7 separate regions of the Homo sapiens genome follow, and regions 2, 3, 4, 5, 6 and 7 are each linked to region 1. The links are contacts of gene promoters, found by promoter capture Hi-C in blood cells and fetal thymus (Javierre and others, 2016). All regions are on one chromosome and are shown on one strand. The core of a region is centred on a gene start or on the middle of the fragment in contact, and the rest is flanking DNA. Distances in the headings are between cores, read along the strand shown. Region 1 holds the start of ZNF148 (zinc finger protein 148). Region 2 overlaps MUC13 (mucin 13, cell surface associated). Region 3 has its middle 29 kb from the start of MUC13. Region 4 overlaps HEG1 (heart development protein with EGF like domains 1). Region 5 overlaps HEG1 (heart development protein with EGF like domains 1). Region 6 overlaps HEG1 (heart development protein with EGF like domains 1). Region 7 overlaps LOC124906278 (a long non-coding RNA gene).

Evidence for each region. Contacts are between HindIII fragments. The CHiCAGO score rates a contact against its expected background, and 5 or more counts as called.
Region 2: a contact is called between a fragment that was not itself captured here and the fragment with the promoter of ZNF148 in region 1, in 5 of 17 cell types (endothelial precursors, naive B cells, total CD8 T cells and 2 more). The highest score is 7.9, in endothelial precursors.
Region 3: a contact is called between a fragment that was not itself captured here and the fragment with the promoter of ZNF148 in region 1, in 1 of 17 cell types (monocytes). The highest score is 5.8, in monocytes.
Region 4: a contact is called between a fragment that was not itself captured here and the fragment with the promoter of ZNF148 in region 1, in 14 of 17 cell types (fetal thymus, naive CD4 T cells, total CD4 T cells and 11 more). The highest score is 11.5, in fetal thymus.
Region 5: a contact is called between a fragment that was not itself captured here and the fragment with the promoter of ZNF148 in region 1, in 9 of 17 cell types (naive B cells, total B cells, naive CD4 T cells and 6 more). The highest score is 7.5, in naive B cells.
Region 6: a fragment that was not itself captured here is called in contact with the fragment with the promoter of ZNF148 in region 1 in 1 of 17 cell types (total CD8 T cells); the score reaches 5.6 in total CD8 T cells.
Region 7: a contact is called between a fragment that was not itself captured here and the fragment with the promoter of ZNF148 in region 1, in 1 of 17 cell types (total B cells). The highest score is 5.2, in total B cells.

The regions. Positions count from the first base shown.
Region 1 is chr3:125,373,157-125,377,093 of GRCh38, forward strand. ZNF148 (zinc finger protein 148) reads right to left here and starts at 2,169. Exons shown (of 9, transcript NM_021964.3): 1 at 1,946-2,169. LOC105374080 (a long non-coding RNA gene) reads left to right here and starts at 2,270. Exons shown (of 3, transcript XR_924427.3): 1 at 2,270-3,896. RefSeq lists a silencer at 1,904-1,953 and enhancers at 2,064-2,333, 2,444-2,493. The HindIII fragment of the contact is 7,036 bases long and covers 1-3,906 here.
Region 2 is chr3:124,929,820-124,933,756 of GRCh38, forward strand. All of the region lies in intron 1 of MUC13 (mucin 13, cell surface associated), which reads right to left. Among named protein-coding and RNA genes, the nearest start is that of MUC13, 3.0 kb to the right of the region's middle. The HindIII fragment of the contact is 3,102 bases long and covers 775-3,876 here.
Region 3 is chr3:124,961,689-124,965,625 of GRCh38, forward strand. No RefSeq gene overlaps it. Among named protein-coding and RNA genes, the nearest start is that of MUC13, 29 kb to the left of the region's middle. The HindIII fragment of the contact is 5,337 bases long and covers 1-3,937 here.
Region 4 is chr3:124,996,310-125,000,246 of GRCh38, forward strand. It overlaps HEG1 (heart development protein with EGF like domains 1), which reads right to left. Exons shown (of 17, transcript NM_020733.2): 12 at 1,380-1,514. Among named protein-coding and RNA genes, the nearest start is that of HEG1, 58 kb to the right of the region's middle. The HindIII fragment of the contact is 1,794 bases long and covers 1,060-2,853 here.
Region 5 is chr3:125,012,712-125,016,648 of GRCh38, forward strand. It overlaps HEG1 (heart development protein with EGF like domains 1), which reads right to left. Exons shown (of 17, transcript NM_020733.2): 6 at 1-1,279. Among named protein-coding and RNA genes, the nearest start is that of HEG1, 41 kb to the right of the region's middle. RefSeq lists an enhancer at 1,934-2,228. The HindIII fragment of the contact is 3,992 bases long and covers 76-3,937 here.
Region 6 is chr3:125,036,940-125,040,876 of GRCh38, forward strand. The region is part of intron 1 of HEG1 (heart development protein with EGF like domains 1); the gene reads right to left. Among named protein-coding and RNA genes, the nearest start is that of HEG1, 17 kb to the right of the region's middle. The HindIII fragment of the contact is 682 bases long and covers 1,899-2,580 here.
Region 7 is chr3:125,077,200-125,081,136 of GRCh38, forward strand. It overlaps LOC124906278 (a long non-coding RNA gene), which reads right to left. Exons shown (of 3, transcript XR_007096045.1): 1 at 1-3,937. Among named protein-coding and RNA genes, the nearest start is that of DAGARR, 18 kb to the left of the region's middle. The HindIII fragment of the contact is 1,805 bases long and covers 956-2,760 here.

The DNA of each region.
Region 1 (3,937 bases), core at 919-3,418:
AGACCTGGCCAGGCATGGTGGTTCACACCTGTAATCCCAGCACTTTGAGAGGCCAAGGCGGGCGGATCACTTGAGGCCAGGAGTTCGACACCAGCCTGGCATGGTGGGGTTTCACATAGTGATGGGGTTTCACCATGTTGGCGAGGCTGATCTTAAACTCCTGACCTCAGGTGATCCGCTCGCCTCGGCCTCCCAAAGTGCTGGGATTACAGGTGTGAGCCACCGCGCCCAGCTGTATATAGTTTTTTCTTAATAAAAGGTGAATAATATCCGGGTAGTTTTTAAGAGTATGGTTCTAGCCCAGAGTTCCCTCTTGGAAATCTGGTCTGGTGTGAGCTCAGCAAATCCAGAGAGAGCTTGGTTCATTTCCTGACATAGAGATGCTAATCCTCCCTCCAACCTGGCTCTAGAGTCGTCCAGTCTCCTAGGTTCCCCTAGACCTTCTGATAACTAGTCCTGACCTCCTTGCAACCTAAAACCAAAACAGATATTCTAGCTCCTCCATTCTGCAGGCCCACACTTTGCTGGCTGATACGTTTTCTTCAATGCCATCATGCCTGAATGAGAGTATTCTCTCACTGGAGAACTCCCTCACAGTTCACTTCAGGAACTGTGAATGGCAGAAGATCTCCCACCAGCCACAGATTTATGGAACCAATCCAGCCAACTAATTTGAGCTACAAATGAAGTATCTAAAGAAGAGCCAGCAAGCATGTCTTCCCCCCGACCATTAATTATAATCTTGTGTACTGCAATCCAGGCTGAATAATACGGCACCAATTCTCCTGGACCAGATAAACTGGGCAGTGAAGAAAACCACCAAGTCAATTAATTTCCATTCCAGCGTTTGCCAGGATAGTATTTACCCAACCTCGGGTAAGTGTTAATACTTCAAATTTTCTAAAATCGAAGCTCCATAGCCTAAGGAATCCCCACAGGCCAGACCCTTTCTCAAGGTCTGCTTCAGAGGTTCTCATACTCATTGGTGCACGTCTAAAATGTCACAGACCAAACTACAGACTAAAATCTAATTCTCAGTGACCCCAACCACGGCCCAGACCCACACTTACCAGATGTCATCTACTGAACAGCCCACACAGGTTCGGAACTAGGCCATCCCGGCCCATCTGGAATAACTCTTCAGTACTTAGGCCAATATTTATTAATTATACTACATCTGTCTATTCTATTATGCATTCCCTGCATCTTCTCTACTATTTAGCACTCCCTCTTGCTTCAAACGCGATCCTTTCTATTCACGGGAACTCCTATCTCCCTTCTTTCCTTCCCTGAGAAACGCTTCAGTTCTTTCCATAATGAAATACCTAACGTATCTGCACAATGAACACCCCCCAGAATCCTCAAGACTCCTCCACAGCCACCTCCCCGCATTCCTCCACCTCTCCGGCATCTTTCCTCCGGCCCCTCGCCCTGTTCGCACTCCCACTACGTTTCCTGCAAGCATTCCCTTTTCTCCAACCCCTGCCCTTCCCTTCTCCCAAAGAGCACACTCCGGCAGCAACAGTGACTGAGGCCTGCGGTGCATAAAGCACTGCACCAGGCACGGTGGACAGAGCCCTGGTGTCTCCCTAGCCTTTTCACACCCACACCCAGCACCCTCCGGCCTCCCCGTGCAAACATCCCACCTCCTCCCCTACCTCTGACACCCGCCTCCAGCCTCGGAGGCCGCCTTCTCGCCTCCGCCACCCCCGTCATTATCCCTCCTCAACCCCCCAACCCACCCTCCGCGCCCTGCTTCCTCACGTCCCCCAGCCAGCCCCAGCGTTTCCCTCGGCCTCGGCTGGCCCCCTGGCCACCCCCAGCCTCGCCACGGCTCGCTCCCCCCGGGGTCAGGCCGTTACCGCCGCGCGCTCCCCCCGCGCGCCGCCCCCTCCCCCTCCCCCGCCCTCCCCCGGGCCCGGGCCTGCCAGGCCGAGCGCTTTACCGCGGGCGGGCGCCGAGTCGCGCGGTCACCGACTGCAGGCGGCGGCAGCTCCAACCTTTCTAGGGGCCTTGAGAGGAGGGGAAGGGGGGAGGGGGGAGAACTTTTGCTGTGGCAGCTTCGGCAACAGCTCCCACCCCTGCGCCTTTCTCCTCTTCCTCCCCCTCCTCCTCCTCCTCCTCTTCCTCCTTCTCTTCCTCCTCCCAGAGCAGTAGAGACGCAGACATGCCGCAGCTAGAGCGCCGCCGCGGTCGCCGCCACTGCCGGCCCGGTGCATTGTGGGAAGCCCCGCACACGGGAAGCGCTCCGCGGCGCCCGCCCTCGTCTGGCGCAGAGACCTGGCTGGAAAGACACAGCGTGGCTTCGATTCCGGCGCCTGCGTGTCACCAGCCCAGGGTGGCCGTGGAAGCTGGACCCGAGCCGCAGGCCCCCCAGGCTGGGCCTGGGAGGAAAGCGGTTTGAAAAAGATCGGAACTGAGGAACTCTCTTAGAGCGGGGGACTCCCTGCTCCTACAGCCTTAACCAATGCCCAGCGCTTGGAAAGTGGAGGACTCGGGGATTCGGGAGCGTTTCAGGCCTGGGGAAATGGAAGGGTCGGGGACCTAGGTGAAAGGTTATTTGCCAGAAATGTCTTGGCTTTTTCATTTATTCTGTCTTACCTAGCCCTTCGCCGCCACCTCCAGTCGTTGGCCTCTTACCACCTTCAAATGCCACCTTTTCCGGAAGATGTAGCCCTGCGCCCTTGAAACTGGCAAACCCTATTAGTGTCTGCAAGCTGAGATGCAGGGTGTGGGCATAGACACAGATCAAGAGATCCGGCCCTGGACCCTCTTGGGCAGAACCTTGCCCTTCTCATTTCACCTGAAGCCCAAACTTTGTATGGCAAAGACTTGGTAATGATCTCTATAGAGCTAGGATTACACAGTTGTCTCATCCTTTGGGGGCCCTTTAGCCAAACTGTGACCTCCTTAATGGTGCCTTCGTCAGCTAACATTAGGCGCCCTGAGGTGCTTCTGCATACTGCCATCGTTTACAATTACTCATCTTTGTGTACACACCCTAGCACAAGGTCAGCCATATAACATAAAAGATGCTCAGTGAATGTTGAGTAATTGTGAGCATCTGGAACTTGCCGTGGGATAAAACGCGTTCATTGGGATTTCTTCATAATAATATGAAGATTCCATTTAGCGCCTCTCTGCAATACTTAAACGTAACCTTTGAGGGGAGAGGGAAAAGAAAAGGCATGAAAATATCTATAGAGCCATTTCTGGTGTTCTCCTTCCCTTTTCCACACCCGCCTTCCCACCCCTTGCCAACTAAATGTTCATTTGAATAGTGCTTTTTGGCAAAATTCCAAACTCCTGCATTATGCACTTGTGATGACACTGAATTAGATTAGTGTCTGCAAGGTTAATGTTCCCTCAGGCATTAACCTTAGTAAATCGTGATGCCTGTTTAGAAATAGCTAAGGCCCAGAGGTTCAGCTTAATTTAGACACAGGTAACTAAGAGCAAGAGTAAACCACAGCTCCACAATCAACTCTCTCTGTGTGCTTTCTCCATTAAAAAATATAAATTTTAATAAGATGACCGCACATATTCTGAATGTTAATTGCAACAAAACAATGACACAAGTTAGAGCCAAGGGACAGTTATCTGGAGGACAGCCTTCTGGCAACTTCTAGCACCCGCAGTGGCATCAAATTCAGACGTCATAATGAAAAACACCTCTGGCAGCAAGAAAGCCGACTCTCAGTATTAGGCAGTGGGAAAACTAATAACTGAAAAGGGCTCAAGGCCTGGAGGTTACATCCAATGGGCTAGGATTGATTGGTTTGCTATTAGGAATAGATCTAGTTCTCTGCTCAGCAGCCTAACAAGCGATAGAGAAACAGCTGTCTAAAATGGGCAGAACGAAGAGCACTACAGGGATAGTAACAGCAAAAGCGATGGTGAGGAGCAAGCTTAGGTCCTTTATAAGTTAAACTGGAAA
Region 2 (3,937 bases), core at 1,076-3,575, 440 kb before region 1:
CTATCACTTGATTAAAGTTATGGGGAAGGCCATCCATTTAATGAAAAAGCCAAGACCCCCGAGGAACAAACACAAGAAAAGCAAATAGAGAAAATTGGGGATCAGAATGAAAGCGGTGGAAATAGAAGTGACCTCCACGGTGCCCTCTATCATCGGAGTAGCAGTGAGAGTGGCCAGGGGCTGGCTCTCGCTGTGGAAAACTCTGGACAGAAGAAAAGGACTTGGCAGACTGTGGGTGCAAACAACCCCAACCCCACCAGACCCTGAATTTCATGCTTTGGGAATATTCATTCTCGGCCGATGCCAAAGAACCAACATGTTTCTGTAGATGTGCATAAAACAAATTGGGACTTCTTGAGAGGTTTTTGCAGGTCTTTGGAATTATGACAAGGAGTTTTGGACTTGGTGGCTTGTTTATTTTGGTTTTAAATTTCTGTTCACTAGGGAGAATACATTTCAGAATGCTCAATTAGTTTTAATAAATGAGACACATTCCAAGCTGACAGCAATTCATTGCTGTGAATAGCTACGATTTTTTTTTAAACTAAAATACACTTGTGTGTGTCTATGTGTATATATGTGTTTTATCTGAGGGTTGTATAGATTTCAGGGAAGACAGCTTAGAGCTGATATCCCAGGCTTAAATTATCTAGTAAAAATACCCAAGAGGAACTGTAAAATAACCTATTTTGTTCAATCTATAGATAACAGAAATATATGAAGACATCTGTGCAGTAGAAATAACTTTAGTCTTTTTATTTCCTTAGGTCCTAAAGCTTCTAAATAACACAAGGATAGCACAACGTCCACAGAGGTACAAATCATAGGTTTCAATGGGAAAATATATGCCCTGACCTGGTTTCTTTCTGGGGAACACTCCATAATCACCACCCCTGTCCAGGGCACACCTATAACTGCTTTATTCAAAGCTAGCTGAAAGTCACAATCAAACGCCTTTCTCCCAGATCTGAATTCTTCATTATGATGAGATGTTGGTTCCCAAAGGCACTCATCAGATTCTGTGGAATAATGCAGTCCTAGTCTCTCAGAGAAAGCAAAAACAACCTGGGAAGTTTTGCCTGTTAAAGGCTCTTCAAATGTCACTGGCACATTTTTCATTTGTTTCAGTAAATGCTTGTGCGGGGGTTCTTGCAGTCAAGGTGCTATACAAGGCATAGGGGTGAGGAGGAACGTAAAGGTGTACAAGACACACTTCCTGCCCTTGGTTGCTCAGAATCTGAGATGGAACTCATGTTTGAAGTAGTGATTCCTTACACACACCTCCAAAATCCTTAACGTTACATTAAAAAGCAACTTTTTAAAAATTTTCAGGCCAGGAGCGGTGGCTCATGTCTGTAATCCCGGCACTTCGGGAGGCTGAGGTGGGTGGATCATGAGATCAAGAGATTGTGACCATCCTGGCCAACATGATGAAACCCTGTCTCTACTAAAAATACAAAAATTATCTGGGCATGGTGGCACACGCCTGTAGTCCCAACTACTTGGGAGGCTGAGACAGGAGAATTGGTTGAACCCAGGAGGCAGAGGTTGCAGCGAGCCAAGATCGTGACAACTGCACTCCAGCCTGGCAACAGAGCGAGACTCTGTCTCAAAAAAAAAAAAAAGCAACTTTTTAAAAATTTTCAGGCCAGGCGCGGTGGCTCATGCCTGTAATCCCAGCAGTTTGGGAGGCCGAGGCGGGCAGATCACCTGAGGTCAGGAGTTTGGGATCAGCCTGGCCAACATGATGAAACGCCATCTCTACCAAAAATGCAAAAATTAGCTGGGCGTGGTGGCAGGCACCTATAATCCCAGCCACTCGGGAAACTGAGGCAGGAGAATCACTTGAACCTGGGAGGCAGAGGTTGCAGTGAGCTGAGATAGTGCCATTGCACTCCAGCCTGGGCGACAAGAGCAAAACTCCATCTCAAAAAGTAATATAAGGCCAGGCGCGGTGGCTCACGCCTGTAATCCCAGAACTTTGGGAGGCCAAGGCGGGCGGATCATGAGGTCAGGAGTTCGAGAACAGCCTGGCCAATGTAGTGAAACCCCGTCTCTACTAAAAATACAAAAAAATTAGCCAGGTGTGGTAGTGAGCACCTGTAATCCCAGCTACTTGGGAAGCTGAGGCAGGAGAATTGCTTGAACCTGGCAGGCGGAGGTTGCAGTGAGCCAAGATGGCGCCATTGCACTCCAGCCTGGGCAACAAGAACAAAACTCTGTCTCAAAATAAATAAATAAATAATAAAATAAATATTTTTTTCAAAAGCAAACCTTAGTAGCCACAAAACTGTCAGTATTAATATATCTGGAGGTAGATGGGTGGGAAGTCAGATTGGATGCTCAATTTTTATTTCATATACATCTGTATTGTTTGGATTTGTTACAGTGGGTCTGCATTACTTGTATAACTTTTTTAAACAAAGAAGAGGAAATCAAAACCAAAGTTTGAAAATCAGATCCAGGCTGGGCGTGGTGGCTCACGCCTGTAATCCCAGCACTTTGGGAGGCCAAGGCAGGTGGATCTCCTGAGGTCAAGAGTCTGAGACCAGCCTAGCCAACATGGTGAAACCCCATCTCTACTAAAAATACAAAAATTAGCCAGGTGTGGTGGCAGGTGCCTGTAATCCCAGCTAGTCTGGAGGCTGAGGCAGGAGAATCGCTTGAACCTGGGAGGCGGAGGTTGCAGTAAGCAGAGATCGTGCCATTGCACTCCAGCCTGGGCGACAAGAGTGAAACTCGGTCTCAAAAAAAAAAAAAGAAAGAAAGAAAAGAAAATCAGATCCAAGTGCAGACATGACAAAAAGGGAAATCATTTATTAAGCCCCTATGTGCCAGGCAGTATCCCGGCACATCAGGCTCTTTGTCTCATTTAATCCTCTCAGTCACTCTTCAGTATAGGGATTTCCCCTCTATTGCTACACAGGAAGACACTGAGGGTCAGAGACACCCCACAGCTAATAAGTGGTGGCATGCCATCTGAATCCCTGCTTGCCCTACTTTTGCCCTTCCCCCTGGGTTCTCTGGGTCAAGAAACATCTCCATTCCCCTAAGGTCCCTTGAGCCTCAATGATTCCTGATTCCCTTAACTCTCTATTCATCTCCTTGTCCCCTCCCAGCCAACTTTCCCCTTTCTACCGCCCTTCTATTCTATTTTTAAAAAGTCAAGCCTTTTTTAACAGTGGCTCCTGAAAGTCATACAAGCCTCACCAATTCTTCCTTTGTCCTGAAGGCTTGGACCTAGCATCTGCCCCCAAGGTTGGCAGGAGAGATCTGGTGAGCCCTCCCCTCCTGTGCAGCTAGCCTTCTCCAACCTTCCAGCATTAAGAGCTTGAAACCAGCTCTCAAAAAACTCTAATCCTGATGCCATTCATTCCAGTTCTCTGAAAGGGCTTAATTTCTCTTCATACATCTGCCTTATCAAATACTTTCTTCCTTTCTGCAAGCAGCTTCTAGATTTCAACTCATTGAACCTGAAGGAAATAAAAATATTTCACCCCCAAATATAGCTCCATGATATAATGAGTATTTTAAATTAAAAACTCTTAGAGGTCAACAAGCGCTGTAAGGACTGATCCACCAAAGAAGAACTATTGCTCCTGTTCCCCTCCCTGTTATGTCATTATCCACTACAGGAAAGAAGACCGAGAAGGAAACCACCCCTGAGCTGACCCTTCATCAAGATAAGGACTGTCTCCAAGGATCTTTAAATTCCAAGGAGAATTATCTACAAGTTCATTTTTGTTCCCAGATCCAATTATTCTCCCTAATAATCATTTATTGCCCCTCAACAGAATTCCTCTTCTCCCTTCTTCCATAACTTGTTTTACCAAGATCCAAGCCCCCTTTCTTTCTGTAACCTCAAGATGGTGTATAAGCTTCTATACCTCATCAGGAAGTTGGGTGTTCATGCTGAAGGTTCCTGGGTACACACATT
Region 3 (3,937 bases), core at 970-3,469, 410 kb before region 1:
GTAACATAAATGTCCCATGGCATTGAACTAGGAATCAAACAATTTGCATGAACTGTAGTAATAGGGTTACTTTTGGAGAGCTGTACTCATCAGCACTCCAGCTAAGTAATGCTGCAGTAAGTCAAGTGATGCCTAAGTCTCAGTACCTTAACATAACAACATTTATTTCTCATACCAGTCCAACTCTGGTCAGCAAGGCACTATGTTCATTTGAGGCGGTCAGTGTCCCAGGCCACCAACAGCTCCATCCCAGCACATATTTCCATGATTGCTGAGACTAGAGAAGTGAACATCATACACGGGCTCTTAAAACATCTTCCTGGGGCCGGGCGCAGTGGATCATGCCTGTAATCCCAGCACTTTGGGAGGCTGAGGCATGTGGATCACAGGGTCAGGAGTTCGAGATCAGTCTGGCCAATGTGGTGAAACCCCATCTCTACTAAAAAAATACAAAAAAATTAGCCAGGCATGGTGGCGTATGCCTGTATTCCCAGCTACTCAGGAGGCTGAGGCAGGAGAATTGCTTGAACCTAAAAGGCAGAGGTTGCAGTGAGCCAAGATCATGCCATTGCACTCCAGCCTGGGCAACAGAGTGAGACTCCATCTCAAAAAAAAAAAAAATGTATCTTCCCAGAAGTGACACATTTCACTCCCATCTACATTTCTTTGGTCAAAGCAACTCATGTGGCTACATTTCAAAAGGGTAGAAAAGTACATCCTACCATGCGCCTGGAAGGAAGAAAGCAAGACGTATTTGGTAAATAGCAGAAATCTCCTCCACCTCCAGGCAACCACTCATCTGTGTCCTGTTCCTATAGTTTTATCTTTTCTCAAATGTAATGTAAATGGAAAAGCCTTTTGTGTCCTTTTTGTGTCTAGCTTTTTTCACTTAGCATATTGCTTTGAGACTTTTTGTGTCCAGCTTTTTTCACTTAGCACAATGCTTTGAGACTTTTTGTGTCCAGCTTTTTTCACTTAGCACAACACTTTGAGACTCATCTGTCATTGCCTGTTGTAGTACTTTGTTCCTTTAAATTGCTGAGTGAGATTCTATTGCACAGTTCCACAATTCCCCAGGGAAAGGACTTTCTAGTGTGTTTTAAAAGTGTTTCCTCCACAGATGTTTGCCTGGGCTTTGCTACAAGAGATCTTTGCTAAGTGCTCCTGTTCAGTGATATGTCACAGCTATATATTTTTCCACTGTCAGCCAGTCATCAGCCTGCAGCTACTAGAGGAGCTAGAGCTCCAGAATCTTTAATTGCCATGATTTATTTATTTTGTTGGCTGATTGGTCTGCCCACTTACTCATTCTTTGTTTTAGTGAATGCCTGCTAGGTGCCAGGCACTGAGCAGATAATATTTAACAAGGATAGGATTGGTTCCTATCCCCACAGGATTTATGATTTTGAGCCCATTAATCCCTTGATGATATAGGAAACAGGTTGGAAAAGGAGTAAAGGGGAAATATTAGAACATTTTGACCACAAGTCCAAGGTCTTCAGGGGGAGTTACTAGCATATCAGTATGGAGATGACATTCAATTCTGCAACTGTCTTTCCTCTATTTTGTGGTTGCTATTGTTTTGTTGGCGGTAGTGGTGTCTTACCCTGTCACCCAAGCTGGAGTACAGTGGCTTGATCCTAACTCACTGCAGCCTTGAACTCCTGGACTCAAGCGATCCTCCAGCCTCAGACTCCTGAGTAGCTGAGACTACAGGCATGAGCCGCCATGCCTGGCTAATTTAAAAAAAAAAAATTTGTAGAGACAGAGTCTTGCTTTGTTGTCCAGGCTGGTCTTGAACTCCTGGCTTCAAGCGATTCTCCCACCTCGGCTTCCCACAGTGGCATCTTTCCTTCTTTTGGTAACAGGAGGGACCTATTGAAGAGAACCAATGTGCTATTTCTTCACAGTTTTCAATTCCTAGGGCTGGATTGTGGTAGCCACTTGGCACAGAGAGCAGGAACTTCAGGTCAGAAAGATAAAAAGATCCCAGGGGTAAAGATATTTATGTTGATTTATATTAAAATCATAGGAAACACTCATAGTGTTTTCCTGTGAGTTCTCCCCTTTAACCCTCATGAGAACTTTGTGAGGCAATGATTATTATCCCCACTTTACTGATCAGGACACTGAGGCTCAGAGAACTGGGCAGCCTCTTAGGCCTGACATCATGATCTGGGAAAACAGCCACAAAATGGCTGGAGAGTGTCTTGTACCAGCTGATGGTGCTGCAAGTATTTATGGGGTCAACACACATCGACATAAATACCTTTACTCCTGGCATCTTTTTATCTTTCTGACCTGAAGTTCCTGCTCACTGTGCCAAGTGGCTACCACAATCCAGCCCTAGGAACTGAAAGCTGCCACAGCCGTTCAATATCCAGTACGGGAGAGGACTCTGACCTGTATGATCTATGCATTGTGCCCCTTACCTTTTACTTCCCAAGCAACTGGAAAATGGCTCATTGCACATTGCTGAGGTTTAGCCCAACAGTTTAAAATCACTTTTTAGCTCTTTACTTGCTGGTAATCAAAGCCTGAGGTGGAGGTTCTGTGTTGCCAGGTCAGTGGCACAAGTAGGATAAAGCACTCAGGCTAGCTTATCATGCACAGAAGTTCCTTCCATTTTAGGTTCAAAACAATCACCAGGGTGCAGCATTATTCACAATAGCCAAAACATAGAAACAACCTAAGTACCCATCAACAGATGAATGGATAAAGAAACTGTGTTGCGTATTACCACATGTGGAATATTATTCAGTATTAAAAACAGAGATCCTGCCATTTGCAACAATGTGGGCAACAAGGAACCTGGAGGACATTATGCTAAGTGAAATCAGCCAGGCACAGAAAGACAAACACTGAATGATCTCACTTACATGTGGAATCTAAAAAAAGTTGAACTCATAGAAACAGAGAGTAGAACGGTGGGAGGGCACAGAAATGGGGAGAAATAGATCAAAGGGTACATACTTGCACTTATGTAAGATGAATCAGCCTGGAGATGTAATGTACGGTCAGAGTACCATAGTTAGTAATACTGTGTTGTATACTGAACATTTGCTAAGAGAATAGATTTTAGGCGCTCTTACCACACACACAGACACACGTATCAATGAGATGATAGATACAATAATTTGCTTGACTATAATAGCTATTTCACTGTGTATTTCAAAACATCATGTTGTATACCTTAAATATACACAATTTAAAAATAAAATACAAACAAAAATTAGTATGAGGGGAGAGAAGGTCTGGAAATGATGCGATGTTTATGAGTCTGCCTAAGCTGAGTGGGAACAAGAAAGGGGTCAGTCCTGGGTTCCTGCTCAGACCTCAGTTGGGATTGTGAGCTGTGGGGAAGGGAGAGCTGAGTGGGTGGGGCTGGCTCAGGAGAGGAGAGTGCTACTGGCCACCTCCATTCATTTGGAAGGCCGTAGCCCTGATCCAACCTGCCAAAAGGTCACCTTCATGCCCCAAACTGCCATTATTGGCCTCCCCCAGTGCCAAGGTTTTTGCCATAAAGCATATGAGAGGCTCATCATCCCTGACCTGCAAGGCATCCAAGGAAGCAATTCATTCACGAATGTATACCTAAACAGGCAGCCACATCCCTCGGCCACCATGAGTGTAAGATCCATGGCCCACCATCTTAAAGTTCTGCAGATTCTCCCCACCAGAGCACACATAGGCTTACTTTCCCCTCTCCTCCAACACATGAAGAGTTGGCATGGAAGGGATAGTGGGAGACATTGAGGAGGGAATTGTAAGTATCTGAATTGGTCACTTATGGTCTCCAATTCACATAAACAAAAGCAGGTGCTGTATCTAAGTTTGGCTTCCTGCCATTTAGGTCTGTTTGTCCATCCATCCATCATCAAAAGTGTACCTCCCCAGTGCTGGGCACTGAGAATACAGAAATGACTCAGCTTCCACA
Region 4 (3,937 bases), core at 707-3,206, 380 kb before region 1:
CCGATCTCAGGTGATCTGCCCGCCTCGGCCTCCCAAAGTGCTGAAATTATAGGCGTGAGTCACCACGCCCGGCTCAACTCCCCATTTCTAAGAGGTGCAAGGAACACTTTGCATTAAAGCAGATAAGATGGCATGAGGAAGCATCATCTCTTTGTAGCAATGTGGCAGTCTGGCACGGCACTGAGACATGCTGTGTCCTAGTCACACATCAGGACCTAGGCCCAACACAGAGAGTTGGCCCTCCCCTTCAAAACCCATCACAGGTCCCACCTGGAGAGCTGATGATGCGCACTTGAGAAGAACTTTGTATCCAAACCTAACAAAGTCAGAGGGTCTGAAGCTCAGGATAAGAGTGCTGCCCTGAAATATATTTTTATCTGTGATGAACAAGTCCTCTCATGGGAAGTCCTGATGGAGAAAAGTGGCATGTCGCCTCGCCCCAGTATGTGATTTTTATTCAGATTCCAGTAACATCCATTGACATCTGTCACCAGCAAGGTGTTGACTGAGTAGGAAAACTGGCCATCCATGATGGCCTTTATATCGTTAGTTTTTCTGGTGATTGCAAGTTGCAGCAGCCTTTTATAAGTCAGGGTGCGTGGTGCTCTTGGACCTGAATTAATTTTATTTTAAAGCAGTATTCTTGGACTACATTCTTTGAGCAGTTTTTCCCTGAAACTAAATGAATTTAAGCCTCACCTTAAAGGTTAGTAGAATTAGATTTCTGCTCTCAAGCACTTCATGAGACCTTTAAAACCAGAACTCATTAATTCAACAACAACCTGGACCAAATACAAGAGCAGATGCTGACAGCTTACAAAGGGCCTCTATATCCACTGCCTTCCTTAACTCTTAGAATAAATATCCAATAGAGGATCACCATACCCATTTCTCAGGAGAGGAAACCGAGGCTCAGAGAAACAAAGTGACTTGCCCAAGGTGATACATGATCAGTGAGGCAGAGTCGGGCTCTGACTCTGGCCTCAGCTGCCTCTGAAAGATATAAGCCTGACCCCACGCTTGTACTTCCACTTTAAAAGATTAGCAGACAACAGATAAAGCTTTGGGAATTAAAACAATAATTTTTCTAACTTCCTTTAAATGGAAAAAAAAAGAAAAGGCACTGCTACCACAGGCATTCCATTCTGTCTTCCTTTGAATTTAATTGGCCAGACCAGCATGCACCAGTCAAAGATAATGCTATTATTCCAAGGAGATAATGTATTCAATCCTGCCACGAGCAAAATAACAAGAACCAGTTACCCTCAGTTTAGAATGGTCACGCCTAAGCAAAGACAGAGAGAGAGCAAGAAAGAGAAACAGAGCACCAGGCAGAGTCCCAGGACTGGGCACAGAACCCCAGGCGAAGCTGTGGCTACCTCGGCAGGAGTGGTCCATCTTGTTGAACTGAAAGTATCCCGACTTGCACTGGCACAGGGCAACGCCGTCCAGGTCAGTGCAGATGGAGGTGTCTTTGTCACATTCGGGACTCTTCCGCTTGCACAAGCTGCCCGCTGGAATGGAAAAACAAGACAGTGAAACAAAACAAAACCTTCTCCACTTCAAACCTTAAAATCTCCTCCACTTCAAAGCTCATGTGTCTGCATGAACTCTCTATTTCAAGAGGCTGAGAACAGTTTTCCGAAAAGTCTCCACAGAGCAACACTCCTCTCAGGAGTCCATCTGTACTGCCTTCTGCCACTCCTTCTCTGATCAGCCGCAGGCTGTGCACCAGTGTTCCCCGTTGAAAACACCCTCACAGCGTGCCACGGACCCACTGAGAAACGAAATTGGAATAAACAGGCCCTGTTCACTCCTCTGGTGCTCACTGCAAATACAGCCCTTAATGGCCCCGTGTCTTCCAAAGGACTGCGGAGGAAGGATCAGCACAACCAGAAAATACGGCTGAGTTCTTAGGAAGCCGAGACTTGGACTAAGAACAGGAGTGCAGGCCAGACCTGTTTCAAGTGGAAGTACATCTCAGCTCTGTGTGTCTGCATGGCCTAAAAAGGGACCTAGAACCACTCCCTGTGGCAAGGTGGCTTGCTGTCCTGACAGCGTGCTGCCTACAAGAGACTGGTGATGAGGAGAGATCTGAAAGACAATCTGCTTGCCCCGGGCTGTAGTGTAATTCTGCTTATCAGGCAGTTTCCCCCACTCCACTGATGGGTTCTTGAGGCTTCTTCATCTCTGGGTCTTCAGTGCCTGGCACAGGGACTGGTTGGTACACATGGCCGCCTGTCACTGACCAGGCAGAGAGAAACAGAGGCAGGCAGAGAAGGAGCCCATCTTTCAGGCTTGCTACCTTGTTTACTTTAGGGCCTTATTCATCTCATGGATGACAAAGAATCATTTCATTATTATCAGAAAGCATTTCCTGTGGGGCATATGGCCCTCTGTGAAGTTGTGTACAGCAGACACAATGAGGGTGCATAGGCCTCCTGTGTATATGGGGTACACAGAGAACAGAACAAAAATAGGAAACCAACTGGATAGTGGATAGTACCTTATTTACACCCATGTGCAGGGCAAGGCAAGCTAGATATTTGCTGTTGTTATTGGGGGGCAAGCTCAAGTTCAGAATGGGAAGAAAGATGCAAGGGGAAGGGCCATGTATCTATTGTGCAGGGAGGAATGGCTGCCAATTTTCCAGGCATGGTCTCCCATTTCCCACCCAAAGGAGGAAGCCAACCTATTCAGAAGCCAGGTACCCCTTTTAATGCTGCAAAACTGCCCCTGCCCAGGCAGGTTTTGGTGACATGAGCTGCCACCCCACATGGGGTTCCTGAAATCTGCCCCCTTTTGTGAGTCCTGAGAACTCAGGACCGGTAGACAGCCTGGTCACACGAGGTAAGCTTAGGACACAACTCTAGTTCTCAAAGCTGAATTTCCTGCCTTTATCAGTGGAAGCTAGCGTGCTCAATCAGAACCACATTTGTGTGTGTGACAGAATTTCCTTTGTTTATTGTAAAAAGTTTGTATTTAAGGGAGAAAAATTAAAAATGGAAAATCTCACCAGGCAAACACTGCAAAGCTGGCACCAGGGAGGTAATGAACTTCCACAATCCCTCATCTCAACTCTTTGAAGGCTTTGCCAGTCCTCAAGCCTTAATATAAAGAAATTCCTCCAGGGCAGAAACCTGTCCAGGCTGACACTTGCCTTGTCCAGCAGCCAGCCAGAGTTGCCTGGCCTGATTAGATATTTTCTGGAAGCCAATGTCACGTTTTCCTTCCACCCTGCCCATTAATCCAGCCTGCTGGCAAATCACTCTGCTGGAGCAACTGTGCCCTGCACAGAAGCAGATCCATGCAAAAGCATGGGACACAGGCCCTGCCTCTGCAGTGGAGGAGTTGCTACCCTACAAATTCTCAAAGAATATTCTACCATAAATTCATCCAATAGGACCACGTAGAATCCCATTTTCATATAAAGCCTGGCAATGTGATTTTGCTACATTCACAATTCCCATGGTCTTTCCTGGGCATAACATCCGCCAAAACAGACAATGAGACTCTAAGTAAATCTAAAGCTGAGACATTCCATGGGGGATTTCCAAAGACTAAACCTCTGGAGATGACAAGAGCTGCAGTTCTTTGAAAGGCAAGGAAGTGGATATTTTATGAAGTGAAGACAGAAAACCCTCCTTTCCAATGGCAGTGTCCAGAGTAGCCCAGCACTGCCCTTATGCTGGAAACACCCAGATGTCAGAAGCTGTCAAGGCCACCTCTCTAGTACTCAGAAAGGTTAGCATGAGACCAGGCTGGTCTTGGCAAAACCTGGAGAAGACCTGGGAGGAAAAACAGGGAAACAAGCCTGTTTTTTTCAGCTAATATGCATAGCTGTCTTTGTTCTCACGGGCTCTGAAAGGAGAAGTAAATAGGAACTTCAGCAAGGCAGCAAGGGTGAGAGGTACTTTCCCATAAACCATATACAAGC
Region 5 (3,937 bases), core at 822-3,321, 360 kb before region 1:
GAAACAACTGTGGTTTGGGGAGAAGGAGATGTTCCGAGGGAACGTGAAGCTGGGCTGTACTCTGCTGTAACGCCAAGCTTTGTGGTCATTTCTTTTGCTGATGTGGGTACACTGGTCAAAGGGATCAATCCAGTGGTAGCATCCACAATCACTCGGTTCCTTTCTGTGCTGATGCCACCTTCTGTTGAGATTTGAGGAACTAGTATTTCAGGATGGGTCAGCGAGAGCTGTTTTCCAGCTGTAGTCTGTACGGCTATAGGGCCAGTGACCAGAGATGCTGTGCTTGACAGGGTGCCAGGAGTGGTCATAAGAGGCTGAGAGGTCTTCAGAATGGTAGTTGTGAAAGTTGGAGACATTTGTGCTAAGTTGGTGCTTGTGGCTGGAAGGGTTTGCTCTGTGGAGGACTCTGTTAAGGATGGAGGCAAAGGAGAGTTTGTTGTTACAGCTTTGGTGGACTCTGTGGGCAGAGACACCAGGCTTGGTGACTTTGATTCTGTAATGACTTTCTCTTGGTGTGGGGTGCTCTGGCTCTTAAGGTCTGCAGTTTGACTACTATGGAGCATTGTCATGAATGATGTCATTGTTGATGTCTGAAATGAAGTCACAGGAGTCTCCCTTGCCCTGGGCAGGACAGGGGTAGAAGATGACTGTGGCAAGGTTGTTTGTGAGACAGAAAGTGGGGCAGATGTAGATGTCGTTAAGGATACTGGTAAAGGTGATGGTGAGGAAGACCATGGTGTGGATGCATCAGAGGTAGACTTTAGTAGATGCACAGAGGCCCTGGTTGATGGTAAAATTGATGAAAATAAATGGTGGGATTGTGACACAGAGGGCAGAGGCAAAGGAGGCCCTGAAGAAGAAGAAGAGGAGGAGGAGGAAGAGGAGGAGGAGGAGTCACTAACAAACTCAGCATCAGTGTCCAGAACAACCGAAGTGTTCGGCATATTAATGGTGGGTGTGTAGGACGGAAGGTTGGATGTATGCAGAACTGGCGACTCAGTAGAAGGCTGAGCATATTCCCCGTCATAGGATGAGATGTTACTTCTCTCAGTCTGAGCATGAAAAAAGGAGGAATACTCTGAATGTGAAGAGTTTGAGATTTTAATATAAGAAGTTGAGCTCTCCACAATGTCTGAGGATGAACTGTTATCTGTAATGGACAGTAACGCCCGTTCTCCTTTGGTGAAAGTAGATGACAGGTAGGTGTGGTCTGTGTGGTCGCTGGAAGTCCTTTGTTCAATAGCTGTGCCACGCACTTGACCGTAGCTAATCCCAGCGACTGTAAACGGAAAAGCCAAAGTTAGGTCAAATAAAAGAACAACAAAACTCTGAAATATGCACTATCAAACAGACTTTCAGTGTCATGAAACTCAATGAATTCAAGTGGGTGAAACACTTGCTTTGGAGAGGTGGTTTTCAAGGGTGAGCACTCTGAATAAAGACATTGTGGGCAGGCAGGAGTGGTCAGTGTCTCCTCTGAGCAGACTGACCTCCTGAGAGAAGCAGTGGTAGCGGCAGTGGAAATGGTAACAAAAGAGAAGTGGGGACTAAGGGTCTAAAAATGGAGAGGAGTTGCAAATTTCCTCCACATGCCTTTTTCGATAAAAGCAAACTGGTATCTGAAAAGCTCTTAAGACCCCAAATAGAATAACTGTTATGCCTAAATGAAAAAAGGAAAATCTTCCCAACTTTCCATTCTATAGAATGAGATATTTCTTTCCCAGGAGATTGACCTTAGCCACAAGTGGTTGGTCTCTTATTTTAAGTCTCCCAGCAAACACTATCCCAAATTCCTTAGGTGAGTGTGTGTGGAGGGCTGGGGGTGGGAACTGGGGAGGGGTATTCACCTTCCTGAGGTGGGAGAATCTAGAAAGTTCTCTCCATAAAGAGCTTGTAAGGCACTTTCTGGCTTGACAGCTAACTGAATCATCCCAGGACGGTGAGTAAATTAATAGATGAGCTGAAGGGATGTGTTAAAAGAGACTGTGGAAGACACCCCACCTCCGAGTGCACTGGAGGCGGCCAGTGACCGTGAGACCAGGCCCATGTCGTCCGTCACGTTTACGTGCAGAGAGGCACCCTCTGTTTCTTGGTGCATGGCCGCTGCAGGGCTGCCTGCTTCCCCAGAAGTCGTGCTCATGCTGGTGTTGGTGAGGGTGACAGACCGCAGTGTGCGTTCCCCGTTTCCAGTGACAGTAGCCAAGGTGTGGGTGCCGAGAGAGGGCACCCCAGAAGTCCTGTCCTCTGCATTGGCGGAACTGTCACCTAGTGCTTGGCCTGGCTCTCGGCTGTCTTCCAAGGCTAAAAGTAGAGTGAAAGAGGATGGCTGAAAAATGCAGGGCTGGAGCGACAGGATCGTGCCCCAAGCCTCACTTCCTGGGCTGTGGGAGCCAAGACGCTCCCCTGTACTTTTAGGGTCTTTATCTGAGATGTCTGTTGCCCTTGCAAACATGGCTCAGTGATTGAAACCTCAAGAGGAACTGTGGATCAGCACAACTGTTCAGGCACCCTGGATTTATAGGAGGGTATATTACTTTAGCAAATAGGATCGATACTAGATTTCTGCTCAGTGATACATAATAAATAGAGTTTATGTCAGAGAAATTGGTAGTGGTGGTGAGGAGGTAAACAGTTGGTGAAAGACTAATAATCCTACTGGGGCTTCAGACATTTGCACAAGGCCCAGAAGGGAGGCCATAGTCCTCCTTGGAAGGCTCTTCCTCCCGGAAGGACCAGGAATACATGAATGGCCACAAGGCCAGTCATTACACGGCATTAGTACAATGGCAAAGAAACAGCCTGAGGTGGGGGGTGAAAGGTGGGCTTGTTTTTTTGTCTTCTTTTATTTTTTAAAATGCATGTGTTTTATTCTATTGATGGGGATGGAAGAGGGCAGACGACACATGAATAAATGTCTGTTTCATTCTCTTTTGGGTATGTGTTTATGCTACAAACCTAAAGGGTCTTAGAACTAATTTTAGATTGTTAGATTATCAGATAAACCCTTCTCTTCAGAAATGATGAAAATGAGGTCCAATTCTCCTTGGCCTAAATCCTTCCTAATCTGGCTGTACAAAAAGAAAAAAAAACCCAAAAAACAAAAAACAGGCTCTTTTCTGGTTCTTATTCACATTCCCAGCCCAGACTGGCTGTCAGTACGCCATGGCCATGCTTTGATGGAAAACAGTGTAAAGCTGAGTGTTGGCTAAATTCATTTTGGGATAGGTTTGAATTGACAGAGACAGGAATGAGCACGGGCCACGAGCATCACTGAGAAAGCCAGAAGCCAGACAGAGATGCGACTCAAGCCAGTCTGAAGGGCTCAAGACCTGTGGAGAGCCAACCAGGAGAGGCGCAAGAGCAGGATCTAAGTACGATTTCTCTGGGCAAAGAGAAAAAGGTCTTGGATGGGGAGATCCTAAACTCTCTGTTAAATGAAATTTAGGCCAATGACCACATCAGGGTTACAGGCTTAACAAAGTAGAGAGAGAGTCAGACATGAAATGGAGACTCTGAATGCAGAAAAGGGAGCGGGCCAAGAACTCTAAAAGGCCGGAGTGCAGAACCCCGCCAGCTTTGGGTGACTCTGAGGGAAAAAGATAAAGTATTGTGTTAACCCACAGTGAGATGGTTTCAGGAATGTGGCTACTTTCTATCTAGCTCTTTATAAATGAACTCCAAGATCTGATCACACTGAAATCATATGTTCCTCATGAACCAACTGAGCATTAATTGCAGAGAAGCGGGTACTGAAGAGATGTAAAAGAGAAAGGCTATGAAACTCAAGATCCTGGTTTGAGAAGGTAGAAGTCCTGACCCCCACAGTAGTGAGGGTGAAAAATGATTCCTTTTGCTTAGGACATAGATAATGTGTTTTCCAGGCACAAACATAAAAGAGCATAAATATCCCCCGCTTGTGTGTGTGGTATTCTTTCAT
Region 6 (3,937 bases), core at 990-3,489, 340 kb before region 1:
CCATTTCTGGAAATCAGTTCTAAGGAAATTATTAGGAAGGGTGCAAAGTTTCGGGTATAAGGAAGTTTATCACAGAATTGTTTATAATAATGAAAAGTGGAAACAACCTAAATTTCTACAATAGGGAGGTGGTTAACTTAATTATGAGATAACATTTTAAAGGATTGACCAAAATACATTGTTGATACAGTTTTTCTTATGTATTATGCTCACACTATACTGTCAAATGCAAACATAAATTATAAAATAGTATGTATCATATGATTCCATGTTATTAAAAATATATCTATGACAAATTGTCTCCTAAGAAAAAGAACAAAAATGGTTGGTATCTTGATAAAAGGATCCCAGGTCTACGGACCTGGAGAAGCCACTTAGGAATGGGCTTTCTGGGGTCCCCAGATGGCCTCCTAAGGTAGGTGAAGTCTGTAGACCTTTAATAGAAAGTTGGCTCATGCAACTTGCTACTAACAAAGTGTGTAGGTAGGAGTTCCAGTGACATTTCTGAAACATAATGTAAGCATGTGAGTGGCTTTTGATGGCATAGCTGAAAGACTGATGAGTTTCCTTGTGCCTCAGCTGCTCTGCCCCTGGATGCCTAACTACACTCAGTAACAGTCATGGCCATAACTGGTAGCCCATGACCACCTCTGCAGAGCAGCTAGACACCAAATACACCCTTGGTTAGTGCAGCCACTGCTGGGCCCTGCTGGCCCCAAAGAGCTGCCTTCTGTGGTTACACCTCCACTTCTCCTTAGTCAGTGGGTACCAAAGTCGCCTGCACTGGTGAGAAACTACTGCTTTCCGTGTCTCTAGAAATTCAATTCTTAATAAGAGAGGCAGTGGGGGAATACACAGACTGTGGTTCAAGTCAGACCATGTAGGTTAGACTTCTGGCTCCACCTCTTTCATACCCTATGATCTTAAGTGAGATCCTTAATTGCTTCATGCCCCAGCTTGCCTTCTGTAAAATGAGGATATTAACAGCATCTCCCTCACTGGGTTGTTGTGAAAACCAATGGAATGTAGACATGTAAGAGCTTAGAAAGAGTGCCTGGTACACAGTGAATGCTACATATGTCATAGCTATTAAATGGATTTAGGGTTGTCAACTTTTAAGAAATAGATTTGGGTGGATGACCTTGGCAGGCACTGCTAATCAATCAAAGCTCAGTGTCCTAACCCTTCTTCAGGTAGTGGACCACAGCCCATACCAGAGTGGCCCCAGGCTCCCAAGCCCTCTTGGAAGCTAGGAATCCACTCTGACAAAAGCACTGAGGCTAGACAAATGGCTGCAGGAACAGTTTGGGCCTCGCTGAATTCCACTCCACGACACCTCTCCTAGGAGGTATAGGGAGAGCTTAGGACGCACAGCGTGAGACCTGGGACCACCTCCAGCACAGCAAGCTCTTGAAGTCACTGGCCTGGTACCCCAAAAGAACAATATCCCACTGTCCCCTATTGAACTCCGGGTACCCCTCTATCTCTCTTATTGCCTACTAACTCTTCCTTGGAAAGGGATTAATAAACCACATAGCTGGAGCAGGCAACACCCCCAGCCCACCCCTACTGCCACTGGAGGTCTTGTTTGACTGTGAACATCCAAGCGCTTTACACCATTCCAGGTGGCATCGCAGTGGGGACAATGGGTCAAATGCTAAAATATGTACTGAAGTCCAATGACTGATCCTTTCTGAAGCCCTGAGTTCATCAGGGCCACTGTGGATGAATTCTGTTTAGGGCATGGCTCCCTATTCAGCACCTGTGTACACCCTGAGTAGGAGAGTAATTTGGAATAAACCTGCCACATGGAGGGCGAGGTGTCAAAGAACCTGCTCTTATTCTTGGTGGAGAAGAGAAACGGCCCTGGAGAAATGGAAAGGAGACGGGATTCCTCAAGCTTCAGAGCCTGGGCCCAATGAAGTCAGGAGTAAGGAGAAGAGGCTGTGCCCCCTCAGACATTCATGGGGTGGGAGGGGGCACCCTGGAGGCTTAGTAGGCTGGTGCTGTGCACCTCACCCAGGCCAGCTTCGCAGATGGTCAGAGACAATCATTCAAACCCCATTCACACCAACCCTCCTCATATTGGAGATTAGACATCCCATTTCTCAGGTATCTTTTGAGCTGAAAATACCATCCTTCCCTCTGTACTTAGCCCCCTGTGCTGGGCCATAACTTTCCCTTGTACCATGAATGGAGATTAAATTAACAAGAGCGTTTTATTGCTTGCTTTGCCTGTTTTTTTTTTCCTCCTAATTGACAACTTCCACTTCTGTAGCGTCTTAATGTTCCAAAACATCTGTTTGTGAACCAGCATCATCAGGGATGCTAGCACAGCCCAAGAATAGGATTTCCTAATTAGCAGCTGCTACAGAGTCAACTCCTTGCCACCCCCCACTCCCTGCCAGTGATTTGGGGCTTTTCAGTTTGCATTGTTTCTGAGCAGTGGAGTGAGTAGGAGCATACAGGGAGTGTGCTGTCTTATCCAAAGAGGTAATTTCCTCCTGGAGGGTCCACCCCACCCCCACACCTCAGCCTCAACCCCCGCAGCGGGCCAAATGACAAGCGCTGCCAGCTACAAGCTTCTGGGGCACACAATTGAAGAACAAGCCCTTTATTTTCTTTTCCCTCCATTTGGATTCAGATTTCACTAACATCTATTTAGGGCTTACCACGTGCTAAACATTTTCACATGCATTATCTCATTAATACCCTGTCAAGCGGGTATTATTATCCTCATATAGCACATGGGGAAACTGAGGGTCAGAAAGATTAAGTGATTGTTCCAGGTCACGCACTCACTAGCAGTACAGACACAGTCTGAACCTAGGGCTCATTCCATCACACTCCAGCTTATTCCATGAGGCTTTAAGGCACTGGCCAAAAGAACAGAGCCAAAAAAAAAAAAAACAACAAAAAAAAACAAGTCCCCCACAAAAAGCCAAACTGCAGCTTGAAACACAACTGTGCTGACCTTGTTTCTCTCTAAGAGGAATGAAATGGTGCCTATCACACGGGCTTTGGAATCAGACAGACTTGATTTGACAACAGCTGCACATTATTAGCTGGAAGACTGAGCAAGAGGACTTCTAGATCAGCTTCTAACTCAGAGAGGATTTTTACGCATAACGAAAAGAATAAGAGAGAAAGAGTGGAGCCATAACGGAGAATGAGCTTGAGGAACAAGAAAAGTCTGTTTTTGATATGTGACGTTTGGGGTGATGTTACAACTTCCAAGGGAAAATGTCTGGCAGACAGTTAAAGATTTGGGACCGTTGATTAGGAGAAAGGACAGGATATGACATACGAAGGGAAAAATCAAGGATCAAGGACTGATTCCCGGGAAAACTTGAATGTAGAGACAGGAGAAGAGCCAGTGACAGAGACGCAGATGACAAGGGAAGGATAGGACAAAATTAAAGGTAGGAGCCAGTGAAGAGGAAGGCAGTGAGACCAGCCCTACAGAAAGTCCCTAGGTCTTTCTAGGGTGTCGCCTGGTAGAAGAAAGATGAAGGTCATATTGCTCAAAAGGGAGCGGTTCCAGAACAGTAAGACACTGATGCTCAGCTGTGGAATTGCCCGTTCCTGCCTCCCCGGTAGAGCATTCCTGGGATCCTCAATTTGGGGACTGGTGGACCACAATCAAATGAAAATATAACATTGTCTTAGATACCAGCAATGGATCCTTATACCTATGAGAGTGGGTTTCTTTGTCATTTTAAAACATTTTCCTAAAATTTAATTGTTCACACAGGGAGGGGAGAAAACAGGCTTTTTTTTTTTTAAAGGACTTTTAGCACCCTCCTTTAAAATTCCCCTTTGAGTATGATGGATGGCCACAGACTGAAGAGGGGCAGACTACTGTTCACAGGTCCTTTCCAGGAGAATGAATCTGTGCTTCTCTTCCCACAGATCAAATTAAGAAAAAAATTCCCAT
Region 7 (3,937 bases), core at 608-3,107, 300 kb before region 1:
GGCTGTACTCATCCTTAAGGTCTGAGGTTGGTGGCTGGGGAGTCTGCTTATACCTGCATGGCCTGTGATCATATTTTTACATGATAGAGCTCTGAGACTGGTGAGGTGTACCTGACTCTGATGAGGTGGTTTCAGACACCCATCTACAAAGTTATGAGAACAGTTGCTCCAGCCATGGATGGATGGGTGGATGGATTGATGGATGGATGGCTGGGTAGGTCAATGGGTAGGTGTGTGGGCAGGTAGATGGATCATTGGATGGATCAATCTATAGACTGGTCTGAAGGGAGACCTTCATGGGCCCAGAAGGTCTGATACAACCTTCACTCATTCAGACATTATCACCTACAACTGTGGACTTCTTGGTAAAATTCAGGCCAGGAACCTGCCCCTCTCCCTATCTTAGAAAATGTTGCTGGTCTCACTGTCACATATACCGGCTGTACTGACATTTTGGGGGCATCCTTTAGATAAGAATGATCCAGTGACATGCATGTTTTGTCTGACAACCTGTACTTACCACTGACCTCTGTCAATATGCACGTTATTTATAATCCCTCTTAATGTGCCACCTCAGATCCTCTCTGCTCCACCTGTCTCTGGGGCAAGTCCACTTGTTCCATCTCAGCCGCCACTGGAACAACCAGTTCTGGTGGGCTGCAGCCAGTGTCTTCTTGCTGCAGCCTGCTAAGCACTCACGTCGTGCAGGTCACAATGGCAGGGTTGCTGGTGCCCACCCAGAGCTAACTTTTGGTTATGGGAAGCAGAAGCCAGTAGATGAATTCTGATCCCTTCCTACCCCTAGGGTTCCTGTGGTTTCTCAGCAGAGTCCTTTGAGGTGAAGCATCATTTGCATATGATACTAAGTTGTTGCTAGCCCTCCTCCCCTGCTTTACCCCTCTTTCCTCTCATCCTGCTTCTGTGGCTGCACTCTCCAATCAAGGGGTAGCTCATAAGCTTCCGCTTTCTGAGAAACCCAGGCTAAGACCTGGTGTTACTATTACTATTTTCACAATCTAGCTGGAGTGAAATACAAGATTTTTGGACCTCATTAGAAAGTCAGCCTGTGTAGCACCTGCCTCCTACACTAGACCGAGCCATTCATTTTGGCGACCCCAATGTGGAAAATAATGTTTGAATTCTTTATCATGCTCCATTCTTCTCTTATTCTTTTCCATAAAATCAATCACATTAGGAAGGTGCTCTTCCTGGATACTTGGATATTCTACTGCATTTGGTTTTTAACCTTGGTACCATCTTTTTCAAACTGCTGGTTTTCAAACTCAGTACTATCCTTTTCAGAGTGGTTACTTTCTTAAGTGTATGATTCAATGAGTTTAATAAGTGGATATAATCATAAAACCACCACCGAAATCAAGTTACAGAATAATTTCCCCAGCCAGGCGCAATGGCTCATGCTTGTAATCCCAGCACTTTGGAAGGCTGAGGCGGGAGGATCACTTGAGGTCATGAGTTCAAGACCAGCCTGGCCAACATGGCGAAACCCTGTCTCCACTAAAAACACAAAAATTAGCTGGGTTTGGTGGCACATACCTGTAATGCCAGCTACTTGGGAGGCTGAGGCAGGAGAATCACTTGAACCCGTGAGGCGGAGGTCGCAGTGAGCCGAGATCGCACCACTACACTCCAGCCTGGGTGACAGAGCGAGACTCCATTTCAAAAAAAAAAAAAAAGAAGAAGAAGAAGAATTTCCTCACCACAAAAAGTTGTGTCATGCCCTTGGCAATCGACCCCCTCCCAGACCCAGACCCAGCCTTCTGTCATTGTGCTACTGCCTTTCCTGGAGGTCAAACAAATAAAACTTCAAGTATTTCATCTTTTGTGCCTGGCTTCCTTTACTTACCCAGTGCTTTAAAATTCAGCTACATGGTTTCCTGTGTCATTACTTTAATACTCACTAGGATTCCATTGCGTGGATGCAACAGGATGTTGATCCATTCTTGTCAATAGAGAGTTGGGTCATTTCTACTTTCTGGTTATTTTACATAAAGCTACAATAACGTTGCTTGTTACCTCTGAACTTGACTGGAGCTGGACTCCCAGGCAGTCCTGGATAGAGATGAGCCTGGGGGCAGGAAAGGCCGGGACCTGAAGACAACTGGCAGCCACAGGACTAGAGCTCCACCTTCTTTTTGAAAAGATTTCTCTGGCTGCCACACAAAAATGATACCTTGGCCAGGGTGGCATCAACATGAAAGGGGATATATTTGGCACTACAGCAATTCCAGTTGCTCTTCCAGCCCTCAGCCTCCAGGTCCACTCAGTGACAATGAGCAAAAATAGACATATTAAGATTAGTCATGGCCGGGTGGGGTGGCTCATACCTGTAATCCCAGCACTTTGTGAGGCTGAGGCAGGAGGACTACTTGAGCCTAGAAATTCGAGACCAGCATGACAACATGGCAAAATCCCATCTTTACAAAAATTACAAAGATTAGCTGGGTACGCTGGTGCACTCCCAGCTACTTGGGAGGCTGAGGTGGGAGGATGGCTGGAGCCCAGGAGGTTGAGGCTGCAGTGAGCTGTGATTGCACCACTGTACTCCAGCCTGGGTGACAGAGTAAGATCATGTTTCAAAGGAAAAAAAAAAAAAGATTAGTCATAACAGCACAAAAGGAAAGGAGCAGACAAGATAAGGATCTGTCCACTCAAAAGTCAGGGCCGATTGCTGTGATTACCTTAAGCCCTCAGGACACAGATTTGAGGACTGACCCAGAGGTCTTCAAATGGAGAGAATCAAGCTTAGTCTTGATGGACACCATCAGAGATGTCACCTTTAAGCATTTATCAGAGTTACCAGTTTACATTTTTGTAATTTTTTTAGAAATGCTTGTTTCCTAGTAGAATATCATTCCACTTGTATCCTACAGTGAGTGACATCTGATTACTGGTTTCTAGACTTTTGAGACCAGTCTCCTAGGGAGGTGCTGGAGACAACCTCTTCTCAACACTGCTGAGGAGTGTGGGACAACCTCTGTAAACAAGAGACCTTATTCTTGCTGCTCCAGGAACTACTGGAGGCTGTCACGACAACTATGGTCCCTCAGGCTGAGCTCTAGGCCCAACATGTAGTCATGATATCTAGGCCACAAGACTTGGCCCACAGAGCTCTGTACTCTTTCCAGGAAGCTCTTGGGCAACAATGCAAATGAGACCATACCTGAATTTTGACCTATTCCTTACCATTCTGCTGTCCTTTCTGAAGCAAAGTCAGGACTCCCCACAAAAGCCTTCCCTTCTCTATTAAACTATCACCAGTAAATGACTGTGACAAAGCACCAACTGAAGCACACGCCTTGGGAGCACAGGTGGCTCCTGCACTTGGTGCTTAAGGCGAGCAGTGCCTGATACTGTTCTCAATCCATCCCATGCAATGAGCAGGAACCCCAGGATTGAAGTGGCTTAAACTCTTTGTCACACAATCCAGGGCAGTGTAAGGCAGGCAACTCCTGGGCTAGAAGAGTTGGAAACTCGATGAGTCTCATACAGGCATCATGTGTGGGGCCAACAATATCCATGAGAAAGGGCAACCATCTCTGGAAGCCCTGAGACCCCATCTCAGGTGCTCTTGGCCAAGGTTAGATCATGTCCTTACCTAATCCATCAATGGGGAGGCAATGAGGGCTCCCAAAGGGCTTAAACAGAGTGGTTACTTTTTTAGCTTGTTATGTAGAATTCAAAAAAGCAGATTCAGTAAAGGTTCTGTGATAGGCTGAAAAAGGGCCCCCCAAAAGACCCACGTCCTATTCCCTGGAACCTGTGAATGTTTCCTCTTTTGGCAAAGCGTTTGCAGATGTGATTAAAGTACAGCTCTTGAGATGTGGAGAGGATCCTGGATTATCTGGGTGGTCCCTGAATGCAATCACATGTATCCTTACAGAAAGGAGACAGAGGTAGACTTCATATACACAGAGGA